3 separate regions of the Homo sapiens genome follow, and all the other regions are linked to region 1. Evidence: promoter capture Hi-C in 16 types of primary human blood cells and fetal thymus (Javierre and others, 2016). All regions are on one chromosome and are shown on one strand. The core of a region is centred on a gene start or on the middle of the fragment in contact, and the rest is flanking DNA. Distances in the headings are between cores, read along the strand shown. Region 1 overlaps PCMTD2 (protein-L-isoaspartate (D-aspartate) O-methyltransferase domain containing 2). Region 2 holds the start of TRIB3 (tribbles pseudokinase 3). Region 3 holds the start of SOX12 (SRY-box transcription factor 12).

What was found. The method cuts DNA at HindIII sites, captures the fragments that hold promoters and counts their contacts. A CHiCAGO score of 5 or more calls a contact.
Region 2: the fragment with the promoter of TRIB3 here is called in contact with a fragment that was not itself captured in region 1 in 1 of 17 cell types (total CD8 T cells); the score reaches 5.2 in total CD8 T cells.
Region 3: a contact is called between the fragment with the promoter of SOX12 here and a fragment that was not itself captured in region 1, in 1 of 17 cell types (fetal thymus). The highest score is 11.9, in fetal thymus.

The regions. Positions count from the first base shown.
Region 1 is chr20:64,257,915-64,262,133 of GRCh38, forward strand. It overlaps PCMTD2 (protein-L-isoaspartate (D-aspartate) O-methyltransferase domain containing 2), which reads left to right. Exons shown (of 6, transcript NM_018257.3): 2 at 2,028-2,358. The coding sequence starts at 2,052. Among named protein-coding and RNA genes, the nearest start is that of PCMTD2, 4.3 kb to the left of the region's middle. The HindIII fragment of the contact is 5,734 bases long and covers 1-4,219 here.
Region 2 is chr20:378,873-383,265 of GRCh38, forward strand. TRIB3 (tribbles pseudokinase 3) reads left to right here and starts at 1,888. Exons shown (of 4, transcript NM_021158.5): 1 at 1,888-2,297. RefSeq lists silencers at 2,172-2,331, 2,352-2,461, 2,732-3,321 and an enhancer at 3,007-4,005. The HindIII fragment of the contact is 2,528 bases long and covers 1,286-3,813 here.
Region 3 is chr20:323,769-328,229 of GRCh38, forward strand. SOX12 (SRY-box transcription factor 12) reads left to right here and starts at 1,784. Exons shown (of 1, transcript NM_006943.4): 1 at 1,784-4,461. The coding sequence starts at 2,157. The coding sequence ends at 3,104. NRSN2-AS1 (NRSN2 antisense RNA 1) reads right to left here and starts at 1,484. Exons shown (of 3, transcript NR_109990.1): 1 at 1,374-1,484. RefSeq lists silencers at 654-913, 1,474-1,783, 1,894-2,273, 2,344-2,403, 2,424-2,913 and 2 more. The HindIII fragment of the contact is 3,425 bases long and covers 1,287-4,461 here.

The sequences.
Region 1 (4,219 bases), core at 516-3,015:
TAAATGAGGCCATGACTGGCAGGTGGTACCTGGAAAAAGGTGCTTGTTTTTACTAAAAAGCTGTCTGAACTTTCAAATTAAGGCAGAGTTCAAAATAAGTGATAGTTACTTAGTGGAAAATGAAACCTATCCAACATACAGTTTGAGGTTACCTTCTAGAGATGTGGCATTGAGACAATGTTGGAACATTATATACAGGCTTCTGGGTGAAGAGGTGGCTTTGACTGAGGACGGTATGCGATTTTCCAGCTCTTTTCCTAAATAGACCCTTAAGCATCCAAACACATGATTCCGCTTTTAACCACTGACCCAAATTTTAAGATGACTGTGGTAGGCTAGGGTGCAGCCTCAGAACTGAGTGGCTTATCCAGGATTAAAGTTGACCTCATTAGGACTTAATTCCATCTAAGTCTAAGTCAGCTGGCTGTGGACCGTAATCTAACAAGGGCTCCGAAACAATTCAAAAAATTCAAAAAGGGTGTGAAAATTTAATGACTGGACCATCCTATTGATTTGCAAAACCTAATATTCAGCTCTAAAATCTTGAGTGTGAAGATTGAGTGTTCCACCATAAAAATAGAAGAGAATTTGTGTTAAGCTATACCCTTCACACTTTTTGTTCACTTGTAAGAAACTATGTGATTATTTTCATTCCTGGGAAAACCTCCCACCGCTGTCTCCAGTTGTGTACGTGGGTGTGTATGAAATCCGCCCCAGGCCCCTTGTCACCCCACAGTATTTCTTTACGATCCTCATTCTACTGTTAGAAATCCAGAGGAATGTGAGGAGGAAAGCAAGTATAAACTTCATCATAATTATAACAAGTTGTTAAAAAGGTTGTGTTCATTTCAGAAAATGTCTTCATGAGGTCTGGTGGTCTTTTTCCCTGACAATTTGTATCTGGTGTTTTGTAAAGCATTACCATTTTATATGAAGTTAAAGCAGTTACTTTGAAAAAGTTACATGGGGTAAGTATAAAATTGGAAAGGATATTTTTGTAGTTTTAAGAAGAGTAAGACTTCTCCGCGTGAAAAAGTGTTTTCTTGTGAATTAGCTGAAGCTACCCTGTATTTTAATAGTTAGGCTCAGAGGTGACACATGCTGTGCTTTTTCTTCTTGAAGGCAGGTTGGGAGAAGGTAAGACAAGTAGTTGTTATTTTTAAAGAGCTGGGAAAGCTGCGTATCATGCAATTGAGGAGGGGCTGTAGGAAGTTCTGGTAGCAGCCCCTCCTACACTTAAACTTTAGCCAGGAAGCTGATTTTGCATTTGTTAGAAAAAGGTATTTGTCACAGTACGTTCAATTTGGGAAGAGTGTTTTCTTGCTGTTTTTGTCTAAAATTTGAACATCAAAATATCCAAATCAACAGGTCAGATGGATTGCTTGACTTGGGTGGGTACTTTTGTGTATGTTGGGGATATAGAATTCCCAGATGTAATATAGGACACCACCTAAAGTTTTTTTTCTTTTCTCTTTTTTTTTTTTTTTTTTTTGAGACAGAGTCTTGCTCTGTTCCGCAAGCTGGAGTGCAGTGGTACGAGCTCTGATCACTGCAACCTCTGCCTCCCGGGTTCAAGTGATTCTTCTCCCTCAGCCTCGCCAGTAGCTGGGATTACAGGCATCCACCAGCATGCCTGGCTAATTTTTGTATTTTTTAGTAGAGACGGGGTTTCACCATGTTGGCCAGGCTGTTCTTGAACTCCTGACCTCAGGTGATCCAACTGCCTCGGCCTCCCAAAGTGCTGGGATTACAGTCATGACCCACCGCACCCGGCCTAAATTTGAATTTCAAATAAACGTCAAATAACTTTTAGTATTGTTGTTTACCTTAATTTCCAATTGAACTGGGATTTTTTTTCCTTCTAAATCTGGCATCTCTGGGTGGGGCAGGGGATGAGGTGGGTGTTGACAAAAGATAATCTATTATTTTCAGAATTCAGAATTTCAAATTGGTATCTGTTTAGAACTTCTATTGTTCTGCTCTTACCTTTAACATAAATCGCTCTTTTTAAACATTTTTAATTATAGTATTGCCTAAGTGTAATCTTGAACATGGGCGGTGCTGTGAGTGCTGGTGAAGACAATGATGAGCTGATAGATAATTTGAAAGAAGCACAGTATATCCGGACTGAGCTGGTAGAGCAGGCTTTCAGAGCTATCGATCGTGCAGACTATTATCTTGAAGAATTTAAAGAAAATGCTTATAAAGACTTGGCATGGAAGCATGGAAACATTCACCTCTCAGCCCCGTGCATCTACTCGGAGGTGATGGAAGCCCTAGATCTGCAGCCTGGACTCTCGTTTCTGAACCTGGGCAGTGGCACTGGGTATCTCAGCTCCATGGTGGGCCTCATTCTAGGTAAGTGTGGAAGGAGAGTCTGAAAACTCATCTGTCTCAGGGAAGGAGGCATCTCCTTTGACAGAAAATGTAGTCTGCTAATGGCCTGCCTGGGTCGAGACCGCAGCCTTCCCAGTAGTTATCTGACATTGACACATCACTGGGTGGTGGATAGAGGGATGAGGGAGGAAGGCCTGCATGCATCTCATGGGCCCCGGATTCTCCAGAGGGACCTCTCCTGTTCTCTGTCCCCTCTTCCTGTGCTGCCACAGCCTGTACTGCGCACCTGCCCTCTGGACAGCGGAGGATAAAGACAGTTGTGTAAATCTTGACCCCACTGTGATTTCTCGATTTAATTTTATCACTCATTCTTCCTTGTCACTCCTTCTCTAAATCGATGGTAATTAACTTGAAAGTCCTTTCGGAGTACTTCTAAGCAGTTTTTGTTTTGTTGGTTTTTTTTTTTTTTTTTTTTTGACAGTTGTGCCCCATCGTCTAGGCTGGAGTGCCGTGACACGAGCAAGGCCCACTGTAGCCTTGACCTCCTGGGATCCAGCAAATCCTCCTGAGTACCTAGGGCCACAGGCACGCACCACCACCCCTGGCTGATGTTTAAATGATTTTTAGAGACGGGGTCTCGCCATGTTTCCCAGGCTGGTCTCAAACTCCTGGGCGCCAGCTCTCCACCTGCCTCAGCCTCCCAAAGTGCTGGGATTACAGGCATGAGCCACCATGCCTGGCCTACTTTTTTGTTTTAATACTAAGAGTAATACCTGTAGATTTTAAAATTAGTTTCAGGGATGGAAGGGATTTCACTATGAAGCTATTTAGCCTATTTTCCAAACAAATGAGTTGTGAGACTGCACATGGAAATATGGCTATTTTTAATAATAGCAGATAACTAAGGAAAAACATCACTTGGTGCCAAATGCTGTGAGGGGCGGGGAAGGCATCTGTTTTTAACTCAGTAGGGTGGAAAAGTTTTGCCGGAGGGGTGATAGGAGCTGATCTGTAAACAGGAAGCAGGGGCCAGGCTGCTGAGGCAAAGCTGGCTGAGAAGACGCTGGATGAAACCAGTGCAGAGAAGCTGGAGTCTGTATTTTTTCTAAATCCTGTTAGAACTGACAGGATTTACGGGTGGACTGTATATGCTTGTGAAAGAAACGTCAGGAATGTGGCTTGGCTTGGTGGTTCATGCCTGTAATCCCAGCCCTTTGGGAAGCCGAGGTCGGAGGATCGCTTGATCGCTTCAAGATTGCAGTGAGCTATGATTGCACCACTGCACTCCAGCCTAGGTGACAGTGAGACTCCGTCTATAATTGATTTTTGTGGATATGGAATGATAATTTTGTTTTTTTTTTCTAAGTCTGTATAAATTGGAATTTGGTGAAGTTTTGAGACCGATTATTTTGGCTTTATGCTATAGATTGCTACCTTCAGGTGTAAAAGTGTGTAGATTTTTATAATGCTTTTTGACCGTAACTTCTCTTCAATTGAGACTGTTGTGATCCCTGTGCTTTGAGAAGAGAACACAGTGCCCAGATTATTTATCATTTTTGAATTTGGGAATTGTGATTTCCTCCAACGTAGCTGAAAAATAGGGGCTATAGCTAAGGTAGAACCTTGGGGAGAAATAGGTGATCAAGCTGACTAGATTAGAAATACTATAGGAAAGAGCCAAAATGCTTAGGAAAAGATGACTTAAAGTAAGCCTGAAATGGTGGGGCGTGGTGGCTCACGCCTGTAATCTCAGCACTTTGGGAGGCCGAGGCAGGCAGATGGCTTGAGGTCTGGAGTTCAAGACCAACCTGGCCAACGTGGTGAAACCCTGTCCCTACCAAAAGTATAAGAAAGTACCTGGGTGTGGTGGTGCACACCTATA
Region 2 (4,393 bases), core at 638-3,137, about 64 Mb before region 1:
TTTTTTGTACTTTTAGTAGAAACGGGTTTCACCGTGTTAGCCAGGATGGTCTTGATCTCCCGACCTCGTGATCCACCTGCCTCAGCCTCCCAAAGTGCTGGGATTACAGGCATAAGCCACCACGCCCAGCCTCTAGAGGAGTTATTTTACTTACTTACTTATTTATTTATTACACAGGATCTCACTCTGTCACCCAACCTGGAGTGCAGTGGCACAATCACGTTTCACTGTAACCTGAACTCCTGGGCTCAAGTGATCCTCCTACCTCAGCTTCCTAAGTAGCTGGGACCACAAGCTCGTACCACCATGCCCGCTATCTTTTTCTCTTTGTAAAGACAGGGTCTTACTATGTCATCCAGGCTGTTCTCAAACTCCTGGCCTCAAGCAATCCTCCCGTCTTGGCCTCCCAAAGTGCTAGGATTACAGACATGAGCCAGCTCACCCAGCTGAGGAGTTATTTTTTGACACTGGTGAATTCAGATCAAAAGGGATTTCTAAGAAAGGTGCTGGACCCAGGCCGGGCGCGGTGGCTCATGCCTGTAATCTCAGCACTTTGGGAGGCCGAGGCAGGTGGATTATCTGAGGTCAGGAGTTCGAGACCAGCCTGACCAACATGGAGAAACCCTGTCTCTACTAAAAATACAAAATTAGCCAGGCATAGTAGCGCATGCCTGTAATCCCAGCTACTTGGGAGGCTGAGGCAGGAGAATCGCTTGAACCCGGGAGGTGGAGGTTGCAGTGAGCCGAGATCGTGCCATCGCACTCAATCCTGGGCAACGAGTGAAACTCTGCCTCAAAAAAAGAAAAAAAAAGAAAGGTGCTGGACGCCTAGGACGCAGAGGGGTGTTTCACCCCAAATCAAGTAGCACCAAGCCCTCCCAGGCCTTGGGTGCAAGCATATTAAAGGCCTCTTTCCCTCTCTGTCTCCATTGTTTACACTCCACTGAGCATCCGCAATGTGCCACACACTGTTCTAAGCGTCTTACACATATTAAATTATTTAATCCTCACAACAACTTTATGAAGTGAGCGCAATTATGAGCCCATTTTATGGAGCAGGAAGTTGAGGCAGGGTTTTAGGTAGCTTTTCTGGGGTAGCACTGTGGGTTGGAGCGGAGGTGGAGTGCACTCTTAGGCCAGCTGGCTCTAGGGGCTCTTCACCACTAGGCCGCACTGCCTCTAGCAAAGGGACGCGGGGAAGCTCAGCAGACCTTAGGCCTCCCAAGGGCGCCACGGTGGTTCCTTTGAGCCCAGAGTCAGCTCTTAAGTCCATAGGCCTTCCTGAAGCTTCTGAACCACTTGCCCATAGCTGGGCCTCAGGCTGGCTCTCAGTAGAATGTGGAGAATGGAGATTCCCGCATGTCCACTTCTCCTAAAGGTTTTATAAGGCAGTGCTGGGAATGTGCTTTATAAAAAAGGGGAAGCACCCCGACAACAGTCACTGTTTGCTCTTTTAAGCACCATCCTGAGAAGGAGGAATGTTCTTCCCATTTCATAGGTGGGGAAACCGAGGCTCAGAAGAGCAAATTTTTGGCCGGGCGCGGTGGCTCACGCCTGTAATCCCAGCACTTTGGGAGGCCGAGGCGGGTGGATCACGAGGTCAGGAGATCGAGACCATCCTGGCTAACAAGGTGAAACCCCGTCTCTACTAAAAATACAAAAAATTAGCCGGGCGTGGTGCGGGCGCCTGTAGTCCCAGCTACTCGGGAGGCTGAGGCAGGAGAATGGCGTGAACCCGGGAGGCGGAGCTTGCAGTGAGCCGAGATCGCGCCACCGCCCTCCAGCCTGGGCGACAGAGCAAGACTCTGTCTCAAAAAAAAAAAAAAAAAGAGCAAATTTTTTTTCCAAGGTGATAGGGAGAGTCCGTGGCTGATGTCTGCACTGACCAGACGCCCCTAGGGGGCCAGCGAGGGCGGGTCCCAGGTGCAGCGGATGCAGAGGAGAGAGGCCCGGGCGCGGCGCGGGGGATGGTGCGATCCCGGGCCCGAGGGCATCAGACGGCGGCTGATTAGCTCCGGTTTGCATCACCCGGACCGGGGGATTAGCTCCGGTTTGCATCACCCGGACCGGGGGATTAGCTCCGGTTTGCATCACCCGGACCGGGGGCCGGGCGCGCACGAGACTCGCAGCGGAAGTGGAGGCGGCTCCGCGCGCGTCCGCTGCTAGGACCCGGGCAGGGCTGGAGCTGGGCTGGGATCCCGAGCTCGGCAGCAGCGCAGCGGGCCGGCCCACCTGCTGGTGCCCTGGAGGCTCTGAGCCCCGGCGGCGCCCGGGCCCACGCGGAACGACGGGGCGAGGTACTCGGCGGGGTGCGGCCTGCGGACTCGCCCGGAGGCCGGGGGGCGGGAGGGGGCGGCCGGGGAAGGGGGCGCCGGAAGCCTCTGGGCGTCTGCGTGTTGCCGCGTGTTACACGCACGCACGCCCCTTACACACCTTTTCACAGACCCCGCCGTCGGGGCGCGGCCAGGTCAGATCCCTTTTGATCCGGGCCTGGGCTGAGTGCTCCCCCCGGGCTTCAGGTGACGCGGCCCCGCGGAGCGTGGGGTCGCCCGAGTTGGGCTGGGGAAGCCAGGGACGGAGGTGTCCGGCCGTCACCCCTAGAGGAGGGCGTGCGGGGGTCTGTTTTGCGTGAGTGCGGGATAGGGGAGTCGTGTGGTGCGGTGAGGGGCTTGTGGGGGGCACTGGAGGACTCTGGGGGTGGCGGGGGATCCGAGGGGGTCCTCGTGAACCCGCAGGGGAGAGTCCTGGGTGAGGGTGGGTCCCGAGCACCTGTGTCTCAGGAGATGGTGAGAGCTGTCTGGAGGGCTGGGCACTTGGTGGCAGGGGTTGGCGGTGCAGGGGACACCGCCGGGACAGGGCTGGGGTGCCCTGGAGCGGGGGAGCCGAGGGAGTGGGAGCGGGGGCGCAGCGCGCGATCTCTGGCCCGGCAGGGCCGCTGGTTCTCCCCAGTGCGCGGCTCCGGGTTTGCAGGTGGACGGTGCGCGCGTGTCTGCGGTGTGTGCTGTGCCTGCAGACCGGGGAGGGCGGGGGACGACAGCCACCTCCTTCCCTCTGCCTCACCCCCCTCCTGTCCCAGGGCCGCGCTTCAATTTCCGCTGAAACTTCTGACTCGGACACCCGCCGCCTTTCGCTTGGGCTCCCACGGGAGGGGCCTGGCTGCGGGGGGCGGGGCGGGGTGGGGGTGCGGCCTTGCTCGGGTAGACCATGGGTGTGACAGCTGGGAGGGCTGTGTGTGTGTGTGTGTGTGTGTGTGTGCGTGCGCGCGCGCGCTTGCGCTTGATGTAACCCGCCCTCATTTCCCTGGGTCCCGAGTGTGGCAGGGAACAGCAAGAGGTAGATATTAGGGGCTGCTTTCATTCCACATCACAGATTCTATTCTGCAGTGTGGTCTGCAAAATGCCTTGCCCAAGATGTATAGACTCAGTTACCGCATCTGTCCCCATCTGGGTGGAGCTTATCCCAGGCCCCAACAGGCTCTGAGGGATGGCCGGGGCCAAGGCAGCCTGGACTACTGATGTGGCACAGGCCAGAGGGACTCCAGGCAGTCTCCTGCTGCACAGGGCACAAAGCATGTGCACAGCCAGGTATCATCCTGCGTGACTCAGAACAGCCTTGAGATGTAAGGAGTGTCATCCCAGCCTCGAACCTGGGGAGCTTTCTAAGACTCCCAAGGATGGTACTTATGCATCTTGCTGTGAAGAATAACAGGATGAGTGCTAATAATGACCATTTCCTGACACCTACCTGGCAACAGGTCCATAAGCTCTACATGCTTCATTTGTGTTTTCATTTCATCATCACGAAAAACCTGTAAGCTTTGCATCCTGTTCCCACTTTACAGGAACTGAGGCTCAGAAAGCTTGAGGAACTTGACCAGGGGTACCCCCCAGCTAGAAAGGGTTTGAGACAGGATTAGAACCCAGGAATATCTGACTACAGCCACTCCTTACTGCATTCTTACCAAGCCAAAGTCATGACCTTTCACTCATGTGGGGAGGCCTTCCCTTCCAAGGCAGCTCTTCCATTTGGGAGCAGCGTACTTGGAGAGGTGGGCCTCTGTCTGGTAACTGACTCATGTTGCCTTGTTAATCCTGCCTTGAACTGTTGGGAAGGTCTTTAACCAGGCTGAGGTCTCTCGCACCAATGCCCATACCTGGGCATGCACCTCCTTGGAATGGAGTTTAAGTGGGTGGGCAGATGGGTTCTAGAGAGAACCCGTCTGCCCTGACCATGCCCTACTGCCCTCTCCTTCAGCCACCACACACACAGTCACACAGCTGCGTGAATGGTGGCTTTCCTTTCACTTAACAGTTCACTCTGGAGATCCTTCCAATTACCCTATAAAGAGCATCCTCAACCTTTTAAATGGCTGCACATTGTTCCGTTGTGTGGA
Region 3 (4,461 bases), core at 534-3,033, about 64 Mb before region 1:
GATCCGCCCGCCTTGGCTTCCCAAAGTGCTGGGATTACAGGTGTGAGCCACCGCGTCCCGTCTATCATAAGTTTTATTGAACATTGCCTAGGTATCAGGATGTGTTTACATGCATTATCTCATTTAATCTGTAAAACCACCATGTGAGGGAGAAACTGAATTATCCCCATTTTCAGGATAAGGAAAAGGAGGGACTGGGAATGTGAACTCAGGAAGTGTGACTCCATCGGGTAGACTGCTCAGGCTGCAGATGTAAAGGTTTTACACGTAGGCTTTTCCAGATCTCAGCTTCTGAAAGGCGGAGGGACCGTTTGGACGGGAGCAGGGCCTCCTCTTCCAAGCACCCTGTGCCTTTAAGAGTCGCCCCCTCCCTCCAGGGATGCTCCAATTTCTTTCTCCCCACCACCCCCACCCCGCCCCCCGCGCCGCGGAGCCGCACCTCGGTCCTTCCTCCCCGCCCCACACCCTCAAGCTCGGCTCTTGGCCTTCGCTCGTCCAGAAGTGGGTGAGCTGTACCGCCAGAGGCGCATTCTCCTAGCCCCAAACCATGCCCGCTACGCCCCAGCGGAATGCCACCTTAAAGACCCTAATCCGGGCACCTCCCAGCTCCTGCTTCCCAAGGGCGAGGCCTCAGCGCCCCCTCCCATCGCCCATGCTCACGACGCCGTGAAGGTGACCTCCCCCAGGGGCGGCACACGCCCAGTGGTGCCCGAACTGGCTCACACGTGGTGAGCCGGGAGCGCGCGGCCCCTCCCCGCCACGCGCCTCGTGCCGGCCACCCGGCCACGCCCCCAGGACTGGCTCCGCCCCGTGCCCCTGCACGCTTCTCCAGGCTTGGGTGGGGCGACGCGCCCAAGTCGGGCACCGGGCAGGCTACGGGGTGGGGTAGGACCTGGGAATGGCGCACCCACGCATCCTCGAATGTCGCCTGCGGTTTGTGAAAAGCGGGAAGTCCGCCCAGCTCAGGACCTTTGGCTGGCAGGCGAGGTGCCCCGCGGCCCTTGGTGCTGAGCAGGGGAGAGACAGCTGGGACCGCGAGCCTGGGAATCGAATCCTAGTCTGCGTGTCCTCGGTGCTTCCTATTTGGAAACTGGGCATCATATTATCATATTCCCTTCTCCCTCCGGATTCTTATGGAGCTTCGAACGAGATTAAATATACATATATATGAGAAAGGGATTTGTTCACTAGGTCCAAAAGCATTTGCTGGTCCCATATGTGGTCGGACCCTGTGTGTAGTAGGCGGGGGGCAACATCTACGACAACCTGAGTTCGTCCCCTTAAGAAGCTTTCCTGAGTCTTGGGCCCCCCAAATTCTCTTCTGGGATGGTCCGAAAAGACGTCCCTGAAAGAGGAAAGGGCGGAAATCCTACCTGACGGCAGGTGTCTCGGAATGAGCTAAAATTTAAAAGGCAACGCGGGGCAGGGACAAGCGTCCAGCGTCAGATGGAAGCAGGCTCGCGTCCCCTACCCTTCCTCCAACCCCTAACCTAAGAAAAGAAACCGATCTCGCCGGTCTCCCCCAATCCTAGCCGCGAGACCGCCCAGCCCCGCAGCCCGAGCCCCGCCCCGCTCCGGCGGCCAGCGATTGGGAGATGCAAATACCGGCTTCTCTGCCCAGCAACGGGTGACGCGGCGCCCGAGCGCGAGGCGGGGCCCGGCCGCAGCCCAAGCGGGCACCTCGGTGTTTACACGGGGCGGCCCCGCGCGCGCCGCAGCGGCCCGCAGACGGCGAGGGGGAGGGGTGGTGCGCGCGCCGGCGGGGCCGCGCGGGGAGAAAGACACTGAAAGGCGTCGGCGGCCGGGCGGGGAGCGGCGCGCGCGGGCCGCGGCGGAGCCAGAGGCTGCAGGAAGAGCCCGCGGGGGCCCGGAGGGTGCGATTCCTCGGCCCCCGCAAAACAATGTGTGTTGTGAGCCAGGACGCAACTTGCCGGAGGCGGCGGGGGCGCGCCGAGCCCGCCTGAGACCGCGCTGACCTTCTCCCCCCGCCGTCCGTTGGGCCCGAGCGCCCAGCTCCTCGCTCCCCAGTTCGCGGGGGCCGGGCCGAGCCGCGGGGCGGGGCCGCCCCTCCGTCGCCGCTGCCTCCTCCCCCACCCCCAGCCGCGGAGGATGCGGACGGCCCCCGGCGGCGTCTAGCGGCCCCGGGCCCAGGCGCGATGGTGCAGCAGCGGGGCGCGAGGGCCAAGCGGGACGGCGGGCCGCCGCCCCCGGGACCCGGGCCGGCCGAGGAGGGGGCGCGCGAGCCCGGCTGGTGCAAGACCCCGAGCGGCCACATCAAGAGGCCGATGAACGCATTCATGGTGTGGTCGCAGCACGAACGGCGGAAGATCATGGACCAGTGGCCCGACATGCACAACGCCGAGATCTCCAAGCGCCTGGGCCGCCGCTGGCAGCTGCTGCAGGACTCGGAGAAGATCCCGTTCGTGCGGGAGGCGGAGCGGCTGCGGCTCAAGCACATGGCGGATTACCCGGACTACAAGTACCGGCCGCGCAAAAAGAGCAAGGGGGCGCCCGCCAAGGCGCGGCCCCGCCCCCCCGGTGGTAGCGGTGGCGGCAGCCGGCTCAAGCCCGGGCCGCAGCTGCCTGGCCGCGGGGGCCGCCGAGCAGCGGGAGGGCCTTTGGGGGGCGGGGCGGCGGCGCCCGAGGACGACGATGAAGACGACGACGAGGAGCTGCTGGAAGTGCGCCTGGTCGAGACCCCGGGGCGGGAGCTGTGGAGGATGGTCCCGGCGGGACGGGCCGCTCGGGGACAAGCGGAGCGCGCCCAAGGGCCGTCGGGCGAGGGGGCGGCCGCCGCCGCCGCCGCCTCCCCGACACCGTCGGAGGACGAGGAGCCGGAGGAAGAGGAGGAGGAGGCGGCAGCGGCTGAGGAAGGTGAAGAGGAGACGGTGGCGTCGGGGGAGGAGTCGCTGGGCTTTCTGTCCAGGCTGCCCCCTGGCCCGGCCGGCCTGGACTGCAGCGCCCTGGATCGCGACCCGGACCTGCAGCCTCCCTCGGGCACGTCGCACTTCGAGTTCCCGGACTACTGCACCCCCGAGGTTACCGAGATGATCGCGGGGGACTGGCGCCCGTCTAGCATCGCAGACCTGGTTTTCACCTACTGAGCCCACCGTCAGCGGGGCGCGCACGCCCCCAAACCAGCTGTTTACATACAGGAATCAGGTATTGGGGCCCCTCGGAGGCCGAGGCTGGCACCCCATCTCCCGCGCAGCCTGCCCCCTCCTGGACGTGCCCATCCCCCCTCAGATCCAGACATGCCCCTCCCCCGCAGACACACCCCAAGGCAGCCCAACCCCCACCCCTTCCCCGACACCCAAGCCCCTCCCCACGTCGCCCCCTCCTGCACAGCCACCAGCAGCCAGCCCCCTCCGATACACCTCCCGTCCTCTCCTACAGACCTGCACCCCTCCCCCCTTTTGCACACGCCCCTCCTCGTGGCCGGAGGACCCGCCCCCTCCTTTGCTCCGGAATCTCTCCTCCCTCGCCCGGCCCGCCTTCTCTGGGTTAGGGGGGCGATGCGGCCGGGTGGCAACGCACGCGCCTCCTGCGCCCCTCCCTTCCCTGGGGGGAGGGGCGCACCCCTTTTATCCCCGGAGCGCTAGGGCCCGCCCCTCCGCTGGGGCCCACCCCCTTCGTGCGCATGCTTAATGCTTCTGGGGAGGAGGGGGCTGGTCCCAGCGGAGCCGCACTCTTCGCCCGCTCCGGGCAAAAGCGGGGGCGAGTGTAGAGCGATCCTGGGAAATCCTTTGATCCGGGAGCCCTAGGTTTCCTCTCCAGCCAACGGGGCGTCGCTGCCTTAATGGGAGGAGCACTCGGAAGGGTTGGTTTGGGCCTGAAACTCTCCCAAGTGGCATAGCCCCTTTTCCGGTATGGGGTCTCCTACACCCACGCGCACCACCTCTCCGGTCGCGTGGCTGCCTCTACAGCCTACCTATACGTCCCTTTTTCCCCCCAACTGGGAATTGAGAGGTAAGGTCTTTCTCTGGAAATCCAGCAGTAGAGGAAGGGACCACCCAAGAAAACTAAAAACCAAGGCACCTTACCAGTCTGTCTGGGGACAGGATCCCTGCTGCACCTTCCCCACCCCCTCCTGGGAAGTGCCCCCTCACCTCAGGGCACCCGCAACCTGGGCTCCTCCCTGAGCGCACCGGCCCTTCCTGTCACCCAGGTCCACCCTCAGTACTCAAGCTGCAGTATACAGCGGGAAAAACTGAGGCACTTTGGTGCTAGGGGTTTGGGACTGAGGCGTGGAGAGCAGATGTGATGGCAGGAAGACTCTCGCTTTTAAACATCTGGTTTGGGAGAGACCATCGACTTGGCCAGTGAGACTGAGAATGGATTCCGAGTAGTGATGGGCCGTTTGCACCTCGGTTTTTCCACGTGAGAAATGGGGAGAACGCTGCTGTTAGGAGGAAGTTGTGTCCAGTTCAGGGTGCCCTCGGGAGCCCTGTCCCTGTTGCT